Linked DNA regions of Homo sapiens: all the other regions are linked to region 2. The links are contacts of gene promoters, found by promoter capture Hi-C in human tissues and cell types (Jung and others, 2019). All regions are on one chromosome and are shown on one strand. Each heading gives the region's core, a stretch centred on a gene start or on the middle of the fragment in contact. The rest is flanking DNA. Distances are from core to core; before and after follow the strand shown. Region 1 overlaps CACNA2D4 (calcium voltage-gated channel auxiliary subunit alpha2delta 4). Region 2 holds the start of CACNA2D4 (calcium voltage-gated channel auxiliary subunit alpha2delta 4). Region 3 overlaps DCP1B (decapping mRNA 1B). Region 4 overlaps CACNA2D4 (calcium voltage-gated channel auxiliary subunit alpha2delta 4).

Region 1 (3,086 bases), core at 507-3,006, 63 kb after region 2:
CCAGAGGGATCTTCCTAGAAATGCCAAGTCTGCCCACATCACTGCTGATGGGCCTGCTCCTCCTGGCTGCTTTGCTCTGCCCTGGAGTGCCCTCCTCTCCCAGCACACTTTGACCCACTCTCAGGCCCCAGCTTAGCTGTCATCTGTCTGGGAGCTGCCCCTGGTAGATCCCCTCTCCCGCACCTGGACTGAGTCAGGCACTAGCTGTGTGCTCACCTGGAAGCTGTGTCTGCCCTTCCACAGCACAGATCCTAGCACTGGGGCACTCTCCTCTGTTCCCCATCATCCCTAGGCCTCCATCGTGCCTTCTTCCTTCTTCCTACACATTTCTTCCTCTGCCCAGATATTCCCAGGGTGCACTCCTCCAGGAGACAGAGGGTGCTGTCTTATACCCACTCCTGGGAGTGAGACATTCCAGTGGTCAGGGGCTTGGAATCCCGGAGTCTCCTGGTCTTCTGTGGGCAAGGGAGCTCCCCTTCCAGCTGCTTGCCCTGTGTCTACATCAGAGCAGCAGCCCTTGTGAGGCTCCACAGATGCCCCACTGGCCTTTCTGTCATCCCCTCCTTGGACTTACCCTCAGTGGAGCACCTGTTCATTTCTTAGCTCTGAGTAGGTGCCATGGAGCATCAGCTCATCGTTCTTTCAGTCAACAGCGTGTACTGAGCATGAGATCAGGCTGGCTCTGTGTTAGGTGAGAGGCCGCAAAACACACAGGGCCCATCCTGGGGATGAAGCCAATGAAGCCAAAATCACTGGTTTCAAAGTATCACCTCCCTTTGAGGGAGATGCTAGGAGGAATAAGATGCAGCTTCCTCAGGGAGCTGCTGTCTGGCAGAAGCACAAGGTTATTACATGCCCATAATAACCCAAATCCAACCTGGATGGGGAGGAGGGGCATGAGGGCTGCAGGAGGAAAAGATGCTCCCACTGGCTGGGCAGCTCATTGAAGGCATGGCATTTGCCCTGAACCTTGAAGAAGGGGTAGGATTTGGACATGAAACAATGAGAAGAAAGCATTTCAGGAGGTGGGACCTGTGCAGACTTAGCCATGTTCTCCTACTGTGAGCTAAGAGCAAGAAAGAACAGACCCCAGTCCCTTTCTTTAGAAACTCACTGGGTGGCTGTTTCTACAATTGAGACACACACCCTCATGGCAGTGAGGGAGCATCACCCTGAATGTGGACTCTGGTTTCAGGCCTGCATGACTTGCTTCACCCAGACCTGGCCCTGGCCGGTGACTGGTAAGTGAGGAGTAAAAAATGGGAGGGAGACAGGTGGAATGTTTTGAGATAACACTGACTTTCCTGGGTTTCAGGATCTACTGCATCACAGATATTGACCCAGACCACCGGAAGCTCAGCCAGCTAGAGGCCATGATCCGCTTCCTCACCAGGAAGGACCCAGACCTGGAGTGTGAGTGCTGGCCGCCCACTGAGGCAAGCTTTTCCTCTGGGGCCCTGAAGTTCAGGACTTTGCCAGGAGAGGTGGGAAGGCAGGGGGAGGCTGCTGCACAGCCCTATCCCATTAGCACATGGATGGCTTAGATCAAACAGGGAGATTCCCAAAGAAAAAGGCATAGCCAGCCTTACCACAGGGCTGAGCTGGTATTTAAGCACCCTTGGAACTGTGGTAACATGTATGGATCCCCAGGTCAGGGACTGGGATCTTTTTCAGCCTCTATCCACCAAGCTCTGTTAAGGGTCAGGAGAAAGCACCATTCAGAGTCTGTCATCTTTTTCCCTACCACTGTCTAGAAGTGGACCTCTGGGCAAATGGCTGCCACTCTTCACCAGAAGTCCTCATCTCCACAAGGGGAGCATTTGGCCAGATGACTCGAAGCCTGTGGGCTCTGTTTTCTAAACCAGTTCCTCAGGCTAACCTTGCTCACCTCTTCCAGGTCTAGGAGCCCCAGGTGCTCCTTGTCTTGCAGCTGTGACACTTCAGTCTCTGCTCCATGGTCACATGGCCTTCTCACCTGCACTAATGCGAGTGGTGAGCTCATTAGGCCACATCCTCAGCTTGCTCCTCCTTCTTCCTCTTTGGAAGAAAGAGCAGGTCATCCTGTCACATAATTGTCACCCGCATAAGAAGACTGCCTCCCATGCCAACCCAACAGGGCACTTACTTACTTATTTATTCATTTCATCAACAAATCTGTACTGAGCTTGCACCCTGTGTCAGGCCCTGGGGTAGGTATTAGAGCTACAGAGATAACCCAGACAAGGCCCTTGCTATCATGGAGCTTACATTCTAGTGGAGAAGCCAGGTGATAAGCAAATAAGCCTACATATATAGATATAGGTTGTTATAAATTGTGATAAGCGCCATGAACAGGATGCTGTAGGGGAGAGAAATAGGCCTGCTTTAAAGGAGATCCTGTTAAGCCACTTGGGTGGCTCTATTGTGACACCTCCTCACCAAGGTGAGGAGGATCTCCTTTGGGGGGTGATAAAAATATTTTGGAACTAAATAGAGGTGGTGGTTGTACAACATTGTGAATGTACTAAATGCCGCTGACTGAATTGCATACTTTAAATTGGTCAGTTTCATTTTATGTGAATTTTACCTCAATAAAGATAAATAAATTTTTTAAATGAGAGAAGAAAAAGAAAGAGCCTCCATGCAAAGACTGGGAAAAAGAATATCCAGATCAAGGGAAACAGCATGTATAGGGGCTCTGAGGTAAGGAGGAGCTTGGCAAGGTCAAATTCACAGAACTGGCCAGGGGCAGTGGCTCATGCCTATAATGCCAGCACTTTAGGAGGCCAAGGTGGGCAGATCACTTGAGGTCAGGAGTTCTAGATCAGCCTGGCCAACATAGTGAAACCTTGTCTCTACAAAAATTACAAAAATTAGCCAGGTGTGGTGGTGTGCACCTGTGGTCCCAGCTACTTGGGAGGCTGAGGCAGGAGAATTGCTTAAACCTGGGAGGCGGAGGTTGAAGTGAGCCAAGATCATGCCACTGTACTCCAGCCTGGGCAACAGAATGAGACTCCATCTCAACAACAACAACAACAAAAAATTCACAGAACTGACCAAAGGCCAAGGTGTCTGGATGGTTAAGAAGCAGATGAGGAAGAGTTGAG
Region 2 (2,876 bases), core at 23-2,522:
CACAGTGCACCAGTTACACTAAGAAAATAATCTGATACGGGGACTGCATAAAATCTATGACTTCACCCCCGGAGAACCCATGTGGTACTACTACTGGTTTGGGCTCACAACACAAGAATTTTGATCAATTCTAATTTGTGTAACTCTCATCAGAACACAAAGCAATGTACGGTGTAATTATATTCTTTCAATATCCACTATTTTCCTAACAGGAGAGAACTTCTGTCCTGGCCAGGCCTTGGTGAGAACCAAATCCTCCACCAACGATGTTACCTGTGTGGCTTTTTGTAGATTTTCTGCAGATGAGCTCCTGACTGTTACTTTGCCCTCCCCACCACACATGGCCAGGGTGGGTGTGACAGCGTGCGCTCACATCACGGCCCAGCCTCTCTTGCTGCATCTGCTGGTGGGATGTCCTGTGGGATGAGTGTTCCTGGAAGCCCTGCCTACACTCAGCTGGAGGTAACTTCTCTGTACAAAGAAGTCACTGTGAACCATGTCAGCATATCCCACTAAGCCCAGATTAAGTGTTTCCCCAGCTCACTTTCCTCTTAACTGGATCCCCCAAGTGCCCTCAGCCACCCAAACATCATCCAACTAAGAGTCCCTCAGACGGAAGAGAAGTTGGGATGGAAAGAGACAGACAGTCTCAACCGGTTATGGTTAAACTATCTCAACTTTTGCATATTTTACAAAAACATTTGGCCACAGGAACACATTGCTAGGGCCTCTCCGGGAAAGGGGGGAGTCTGTGGATTCAGGGGTCCTGAAGCTTCATCAGTTGCACAGCAAATGCGTCCCCAGCCCCGCCCACGAGCAGCTGAGATGTGGAGGCGTGGGTCCACTGACTTCACCTATGACCTATGACCTGTCCCAAAGGCACCAGGCCTGGAAACACCAGCCAGAGTCCCAGCTCTGCCCCTGGGACTCCCCGGGCCTCAAGAGCCTCTGCCAAGCAGGGATGAGGACACACCCCCACCTCAGGGTCAACAAGAGATTTGTGGGTCAATCAGAGTACTGTGCAAACTCAGCTGCTGTCCTCTGGCCATAGTCACAGCAAGCCCTTCCTGGGTCCAGAAGGTGGTTCCACAGGAACGGGGCTGCCTCTTTAAAGCAGAGGGGTGCACTATAGCCCTGAGGGAACCAGCTGCAGTTGTGGTAATCTTGGGAGGCAGCTCCCCACCCCCTGCCACCCCCTCCCTGCTGTCAGGAGAGGATTAGAGGAGAGGCCAGCGGATTAAAGGGTTTCATGTTGCCACAGCCTCTCCCCCAGTCCCTGTCTCCGAGGCCTGCTTGCTAGGTGGGGCGACTCTTCTGTGAGCTGCAGCTGTGGGGCAGAGAGAAGCCCTCCCCACCCAGGACTGAGAGGCTGGAGACCCCAGGCTCGCCAAGGCACGGAAGACAAAGGCCTGGGGCGTCCTGGGGTCTGGGAGGAAGGCAGACAGAGCTCATGGTCTGTGGCTGCTCTGCCCTCCTTCCCCTCCCCAACCCCAGGCCCACCATGCCTGCAACTCCCAACTTCCTCGCAAACCCCAGCTCCAGCAGCCGCTGGATTCCCCTCCAGCCAATGCCCGTGGCCTGGGCCTTTGTGCAGAAGACCTCGGCCCTCCTGTGGCTGCTGCTTCTAGGCACCTCCCTGTCCCCTGCGTGGGGACAGGCCAAGATTCCTCTGGAAACGTAAGCATCACGTTCAACCCCACCCCAAAAACCCGGTCACCCTTTCCCACTTTCTTCCCGGGCTGGGCCTCCATCCTCTGCCCACTCCTCCCGCCCCTGCCCTCCCTCTGGGCTTTTCCCCAGTGGCTGCGACTGACCACTCTCTTGCTGTAAAGCCCTTTGCTTCTCCGGCCTCCTCTTTCTCCTCCCAAAAGCTCTGTGAGTTCTGGAGTCCCACCTGCCTCTCCCCAGGAGCCGGATGGCTTTAGGAAGAACTGATCATCAGGGCTGCTGTCTTCCTGGCCTGACAAGCAGCTTCTGGGACACCTGAAGGGCGGGTGCTCCTTCAGGATAATCGCTGAGATGAGGCAGCCTGGAGGAGCCGGGTTATCTCAGCATCGCAGCTCCCCGAAGCATTTGGCAGGAAATGCGTATTTTGACATTCCAAAAAGGGGAAGCAGTTCTGAACCCACAGAACGTCTCATGCGCACAGGAGGTGGCTTGTCCAGGAACTGGGGAAAAAAATGGATTTTGGTGGCCGCAGTCTTCCCTTTCTACACCTTTCTGCCTCCTTCCAACCTTGATTCTCTAGCCGGCCATTAAGACCGGCTCCAGGAAAGAACCCGGTATCAGTCATGTGCACCTTGGTGTACATGTAAATTACTGTGCAACCTCTCTGGGGTGTCTGTGTTTTAGGCCCTAGCTCAGGTGGTCCTAGGAAGGAAATTTCCAATACATGTGGGTAGCAGAGCCTTCTAGACTGTAGGTGCTACAGACCCCATCCTGTTTACTCCAGCCGCTTGAGCCCAGCACCATAGCCAGGCCACCAACAGAGCCACCTGCCAACTGCATGTCTTAGCAGGAGTGGGGACAGGGAGCCTAAATGACACACCGTGCCTGTGCTTAGCCTTTGCTGACCAGTGGATTAGGCAGCATCGTTTCCCATCGAGCCGCATAGCTCTCCTTGTTCCCTGCCTGGCACGGAGCTGGGCGCTTCACAAATGACACCGTTAGTTTGCAGAGCCATTCAGTGGGGGCTTATTTTTATCCCTATTTTGCAGCTGAGGAAACAGAGGCCCCGAGAGGTCAGGTGACTTCCCCAAGTTCACAAGGCCAGGAAGTGAAGGTGCTGGGATTTGAACTCCTGTCAGCCTGGACTGCACTTTCACCATTACACCCGCCGCCAGCCCGTAACGCTATCTGTTGCTGCAGGAGATGTT
Region 3 (2,902 bases), core at 207-2,706, 45 kb before region 2:
AAGAAAATGTTTAAAAACTCCTGAAAGGCATAAAAATAGACTCAAACAAATGGAAATATACACCCTGTTGTTGGATAAGAAGATTCAACATAAAGCTCTTAGAAAAAAAATCTCTACATTTAAGGTGACCACTAAATAAATACCACTGGTTTCTTTTCCCCTCCCCTCCCCACTTCTCCCTTACTCTCTGATCTAGACAAGTTGAGTGTAAGGCTCATGGAAAGAAATATGCAAGAAAGAATAGCTGGGAAAATCCTGGCAAAGAAGTGTGATATTAGTAGGGGTTGGAGGTGGGGGAGATGAGTGGGGGGATGGAGCGAGCTCTCCCTGATTTTAAAACATTGAAGTCAACATTTCAAACAGTATGGTGTTGATGGTATTGATACCTAACAGCCCAATAGACCAATGGGACAGATTTAAGATTCTAAGTCTAGGATTAAATCCAATTGTATATGAAATCTAGGATATGATAAAGATGATAATCTCAAGTCAGCTATTTGAGTGAATTCCTAAATAAATGGTGTTGGGGCAACTGGTAGCCATTTGGAAAAATACAAAACTGAGTCTGTACCTTACAGCATACACCAGGATAAATTCCAAATGTATTAGAAATTTAAATGTAAAAATATAATGATTCAAGTACCAGAAGAAAATTTGTATGGATTTCTTTATAATCTAGGAAAAGAGAAATCTTTCAATTATGCCTAAAAACCCAAAAGCAATTAATTAAACTACATAAAAATAAAAAACATTTTACAAGGTTTAAATACAACACAAGCAAATAGAAAGATACAAAAACAACTCAGAAAAAAATTGTTGACACCAGAATGACAGGAAGGTTATTTTATGAAGAGCTCCTAAAAATTAAGAAGTACAAGATTAACACTAGAAAAATGGGCAAAAAATAAAAATTTTTAAAAATTATAGAATTTGGAAACTAGCTGAAATAAATGTATGTAATTGAATATCATATTGTCACATAATTACTTAGAAAAAAAATTAGAGTGACTTCAAAGCCCGCTGCTTGAACTGAACACTCTTAGTGGGTTATATTTTAAGGACAAAAAGAACTGCAAGACATTATAAACTTCATTCATTGGTTTTATTGTTTGTAGTAATGTTGGCATTTTAATTTTTCTACTGTTGGCATTGTAATTTTTCTACTGTTGTGGATATAATAAATATGAAATTAGATAAACGTGGTTGGAACCAAAACCTTAGTGTAAGGGGAAAAAAATCAAATCTAATAAGTTAAAACTACATAAGATTAAGTGGAAATATCAGAATTAGTTCATGTTTTGTTTCTTAGGTATAAAAACAAAAAATAGAGTTTCTCACTCTTGCCCTGAAAGGACATAAAAATAAAAGTGACTAACTCAGTAGCAGTAAGCATCTATATCACCCAGATTGTTGTTTCGAAATATTACTTCCTTCCAGAAGGTGTCAGGGCTCTTCAAAGAAATTTCTGATTCCAGGTCTGGAATAGTAAAACCAATAGGGTCATGTGAAAGGACACAGAAATCAGCTTCAAGGACACTGACCAGAGCACCACATTCTAACATCAACAGGAGTGACTACAATGGATTAAACCACATTGAATGTATAAAAATCTATGAGTTCCTGGTAATGAGAAAGAGAACAAGCAAACCAAACATATAAAACCAAGCAAAATAATTATTAGTTATCCGTTTGAAGGTGCTAAGGCACCAACTCCTTCCTCTGAAAATTGATAATTAATGGGAATGAAATAAGCTTTTATCCTGCCTGCCCTAAAGGGACTATATCTCAGAGTAATCAAACAGCCCTGGTCAATGAGGGAGAGCTGTTCTCTACCAGAGAATTCCAGCTAGTACGTGTGGAGAGAATAATAGAACTTAAAGACACTCTGCTTAAAATAATTGACTCAGGCAGTGATCATCAGTAATATTAATGTTATGGGAAAGGTTGATAGAAACTTGACAGTGGAAGGATCAGGCTGCCTCCTCCTGAACCCCGCTGATTATCATCATTAAAAGTTAGATAACCAGATTCTCTGGCTTCCTAATGTGATAAGATGTCAAATGTACAGCACCATCTTGAAATATTCTTGCCCAAAGAGTTGATCCTGAATCTCATTAAGCCTTGAGCTCTAACTTTTTAGTTTACAGAAAGTGAAAGTGGGTGGGGAGTGAGGGGAGACAAGGTAGAAAAACAAATTAAATGATGCTATGAGGAAGCAATCAGAAAAATCCTGAATGAAGTGGCACATATAGGCAGTTAGACAAGTTTCTTTAACATGCTTTGCCTTGACTGTGAGCTTCTTGAGTACGAAGAACATCCTTTATTCACTTTTATATCCCTTATTGTCTTCAAAGTACTTAGCACATGGTGAGTGTTAAATAATGGCTATTGAGTGAAGGAAGGAATATGAATGTGAATGAGCCACAGTTTAATTATCCTTCTATTGTATGGCCTGGACAGAGATGCCTTAATCTCAGCTTCAGACAGTAACTATTCTGTATTCATTTTGTGTTTTTTTAATTCTTCAAAAGTCATTAAAAAAAATTATGATGACTTGGCAACTAGTTGAATAATTAGTTATACTTTATTAATTATACTATATTATGCACACTAAAGATTAATCTTCAAAAGGTGACATTTCTGCCCTCCAGGAACTTAATGTTCTGTGAAGACAGTGTAACAATGGTAAATAAATACAAATATTGAAAAAAATTATTTTCCTTTCTTTCCCTCCCTCCTCTCAACACACACATACCTTGTATTGTTTCTGTTTTTTATCTTCTATATGTTATAATGTTTTGACATCTTAAAATCCTTTCTGGCTGGGGAGACTGCCCCTCCTGTGACCAGCCAGTGTTCAGAGATAGCAAAGGGCTTGGCCAGGAGCACGCCTTTAATATGC
Region 4 (2,792 bases), core at 44-2,543, 37 kb after region 2:
TGCGGCTGCCCCTGGGTAAAGGACACAACTGTGGGGAAGCAGCTCCCTGTGCCCCGGTCCAGTTTCCAGAGAGTATTCGGCTATGAGCCATCTGCAGCTGGGGAGGGTGCAGGCCCTGGCGAGGGGTTCCCAGGGAAGCCCTGCCTTCCACACCCACGCGGCCTTCCCCACCGCAGGCTACTACACGCAGATCTCAACGCTGGCGGACACCCAGGAGAACGTGATGGAATACCTGCACGTGCTCAGCCGCCCCATGGTCATCAACCACGACCACGACATCATCTGGACAGAGGCCTACATGGACAGCAAGGTGAGCCTGGCAGCAGCTCCCAGCTCGAGAAGCCCACCTCAGAGTTAGGGACCCCAGGGAGTAAGAAGTTACTTCCTGGGTCAGGAAAGGGGTGGGCCTAGCACCTCCTTAGGGAACATTAAGAAGGGGCGAATGAAGCCGCTTTTCCATGCTTTTCCTCCTCTTTTCCTGACAGCCCTTGGCCCACTAATGGGACCACTGCTCATATGCTGCCTTAGACCCCCAGCAGACCTGCCTGAGGTGCTCTCCACGGACAGGGTCCCTGCTCCGAAGTTGTTCCTTCCTCCTCCTCCACAGTCCTCGCCTCCCTCATCATCCCTCCCTCCCACCCACCCGGGACAGAAAGGGGTCAGACCAAGAATCCACCATCCCACAGCTGGAACACGTTCTCCCTTCCTGGGTCCCTGCATTTTCAAAGGACTGTAGGCAGCAATGACTTGCACGAAAGAATGAACATCAAAGGGAGAGCTTCACATGGGACCTTTCTGGGGAAGGGAGACCTTTCTGCCATTTCTCAAATCCCCATCACATAGGCAGCCACCTGCTTCAGTGATGATGTATCAGGCTGGGCTCCAGAGAGACCTGAAAAGAGTGGCTTAAATAAGATAGAAGTGAATGTCCCCCTTGGGTAAACAAAGCCCAGAGCTGACCACGAGCTCTCTGGCCTGGTCATCAGGGACCCAGGCTCCTCCCTGCTGTCCCCTTTGCTGTCCCAGCCATGTGGCCCTCATCCTCATGCTCAGGAGGCTGGTGGAACATGAGTCAACTGAAACCACACTTAAGCATCAGGCTGTGGAAGGGGAAGGGGGATACTTCGCCCCTGTGAGGGAAACTTGCAGGGACTCTTGCCAGAACCCAGAATTCACCTTTCACTGGCCAGAACTCAGTCCCTGTGCTGACAAAGGAGGCTGGGAATGCAACGAGGCAATGGTCAGCTTTCTTCTGAGTTGCTCTATGTCCAAAAGCAGTGGCATGCTTACTTACCTCCACCTGTTAATAGTAGACATAAGCCATCTGGCCAAATTTGGGATGAAAAGCTCATTAATCTACTTTAAAGGGGCTCCGCCAACACGGCCATGCTCAGCAGATGTCATCTGACCATCACCGACTGCTGCTGAGAAGAGACGAGCTGGCTGCCTTTGGGCAGGGCTCTCCCTCCCTTGTCCAAGTGTTCATAGGGCCCTGAGTGTCCAGGTTTGATGAGAGAGAGGTGGGTGGGGAGAAGGAGGACAGGAGGGGATCTTCTTTGAGCTGTCTTCCTGTGAACCCTGGCACCTGCACTTCCTCTCCATCACCCGTGCATTCATCTGCCTGCCAGTAGCCAGCCCAGCAGGAGGGGCCAGGGCTCCGGTGCTCCGTGTGGGCCTCCCTCACCTGGGAGTGTTGTGGTCATGCCACGGGAGCTGGAAAGCGAAGGCTTTCAGAACCATGAAATCCGATGAGAGAAGCCGGGCATAGGCCATACCTGCTGAAGGTGGCCTGGAGTGTTGGGTGTGAGTTTGGCAGAAGGTGGGTAGAGGCAACCCCAGGTTCCCTGTGTGCTGCAACTGATGTCAGACGGTGCTAGGATGTCCTTAGCATTCTATGGACAGCCTGACCTTCTGACGCTCTCTTACCTCCACGCACACAGACGAGGCCACAGTTCACAGTTTGATCTTCACTTTTACACCTGTCCCTCAGTGAGAACCGCCCCCTGCAACCAGTCCCTACATCTCCTCTGTCTTCCTCCTTCCCTCTCCTGTCCCTGACTTAGGAGTCCCTGAAGTTAAGGGTCACCTGCAGGTCTCCCGGACCCACTTCGGAACCCTCTGAGTGGAGGATGTCACTCCCCTGAGCCCAGGGCAGGTGTCCGCCCTTGCAAGGGTATCCAGAAACATGAGTGCAGGGACAGCTGTGACTGGACTCCTCCCAGACTGAGACATGTCCTAGGGAGAGCAGGCCACAGGGGCCTCCAAGAGCCTGGGAGCTGCTCTCTGGGAGCCAGGGACAAGCTGGCTTCATGCATTCCTAACTCAGGAAGGAGACTGGAAAGCCCTCATGCAGCCCATAGAGATGTGTCCAAGCTCAGAAAACAATTAGATGTCATCGTGGTTCACTCTCAGAAAGCCTTACTTCTAACTCTAAATTGAAAACTCAGATGAGATGAGAGAAAGAGACGTGGTGGCCAAAATGTGCTTCCTTCTCCAAGAAAGTCAACTGTGGACTTCCATGACTCAGCAGTCCCCTTTAGTTGATCTCATCCAAGGTCGGACTTACGATACCTCTCTTCCCACATGCTTGTCAGAAGCCTACTTTTGTTATAAAGTGGGGCACACATGCAGAGCCCCTTTCAAGTGGCTGGAGGAGCCGGCACGGCGAGCCCAGCCAGTCAGGGCGGACAGCCGTCTAGAGGTGGCAAGGGTTTGGCTCTGGTGCTGTGAGTGGAGTCCATGTGGGTCTGACCTGTGTCCTAGGAACGGCCCCGAAGCCCACCACAGCTGCA

What was found. Contacts are between HindIII fragments. The study calls those that stand out against the background at their distance.
Region 1: a contact is called between a fragment that was not itself captured here and the fragment with the promoter of CACNA2D4 in region 2, in 2 of the 25 tissues and cell types used here (dorsolateral prefrontal cortex and mesendoderm cells).
Region 3: a contact is called between a fragment that was not itself captured here and the fragment with the promoter of CACNA2D4 in region 2, in 2 of the 25 tissues and cell types used here (pancreas and spleen).
Region 4: a contact is called between a fragment that was not itself captured here and the fragment with the promoter of CACNA2D4 in region 2, in 1 of the 25 tissues and cell types used here (spleen).

The regions. Positions count from the first base shown.
Region 1 is chr12:1,854,339-1,857,424 of GRCh38, reverse strand. It overlaps CACNA2D4 (calcium voltage-gated channel auxiliary subunit alpha2delta 4), which reads left to right. Exons shown (of 38, transcript NM_172364.5): 21 at 1,196-1,241; 22 at 1,316-1,413. Among named protein-coding and RNA genes, the nearest start is that of LRTM2, 35 kb to the right of the region's middle. The HindIII fragment of the contact is 7,695 bases long and covers 1-3,086 here.
Region 2 is chr12:1,917,048-1,919,923 of GRCh38, reverse strand. CACNA2D4 (calcium voltage-gated channel auxiliary subunit alpha2delta 4) reads left to right here and starts at 1,272. Exons shown (of 38, transcript NM_172364.5): 1 at 1,272-1,677. The coding sequence starts at 1,451. RefSeq lists an enhancer at 2,623-2,876. The HindIII fragment of the contact is 9,283 bases long and covers 1-2,876 here.
Region 3 is chr12:1,962,280-1,965,181 of GRCh38, reverse strand. All of the region lies in intron 5 of DCP1B (decapping mRNA 1B), which reads left to right. Among named protein-coding and RNA genes, the nearest start is that of LINC00940, 27 kb to the right of the region's middle. The HindIII fragment of the contact is 6,426 bases long and covers 1-2,902 here.
Region 4 is chr12:1,880,385-1,883,176 of GRCh38, reverse strand. CACNA2D4 (calcium voltage-gated channel auxiliary subunit alpha2delta 4) reads left to right here. Exons shown (of 38, transcript NM_172364.5): 13 at 177-310. Among named protein-coding and RNA genes, the nearest start is that of CACNA2D4, 37 kb to the left of the region's middle. The HindIII fragment of the contact is 4,323 bases long and covers 1-2,792 here.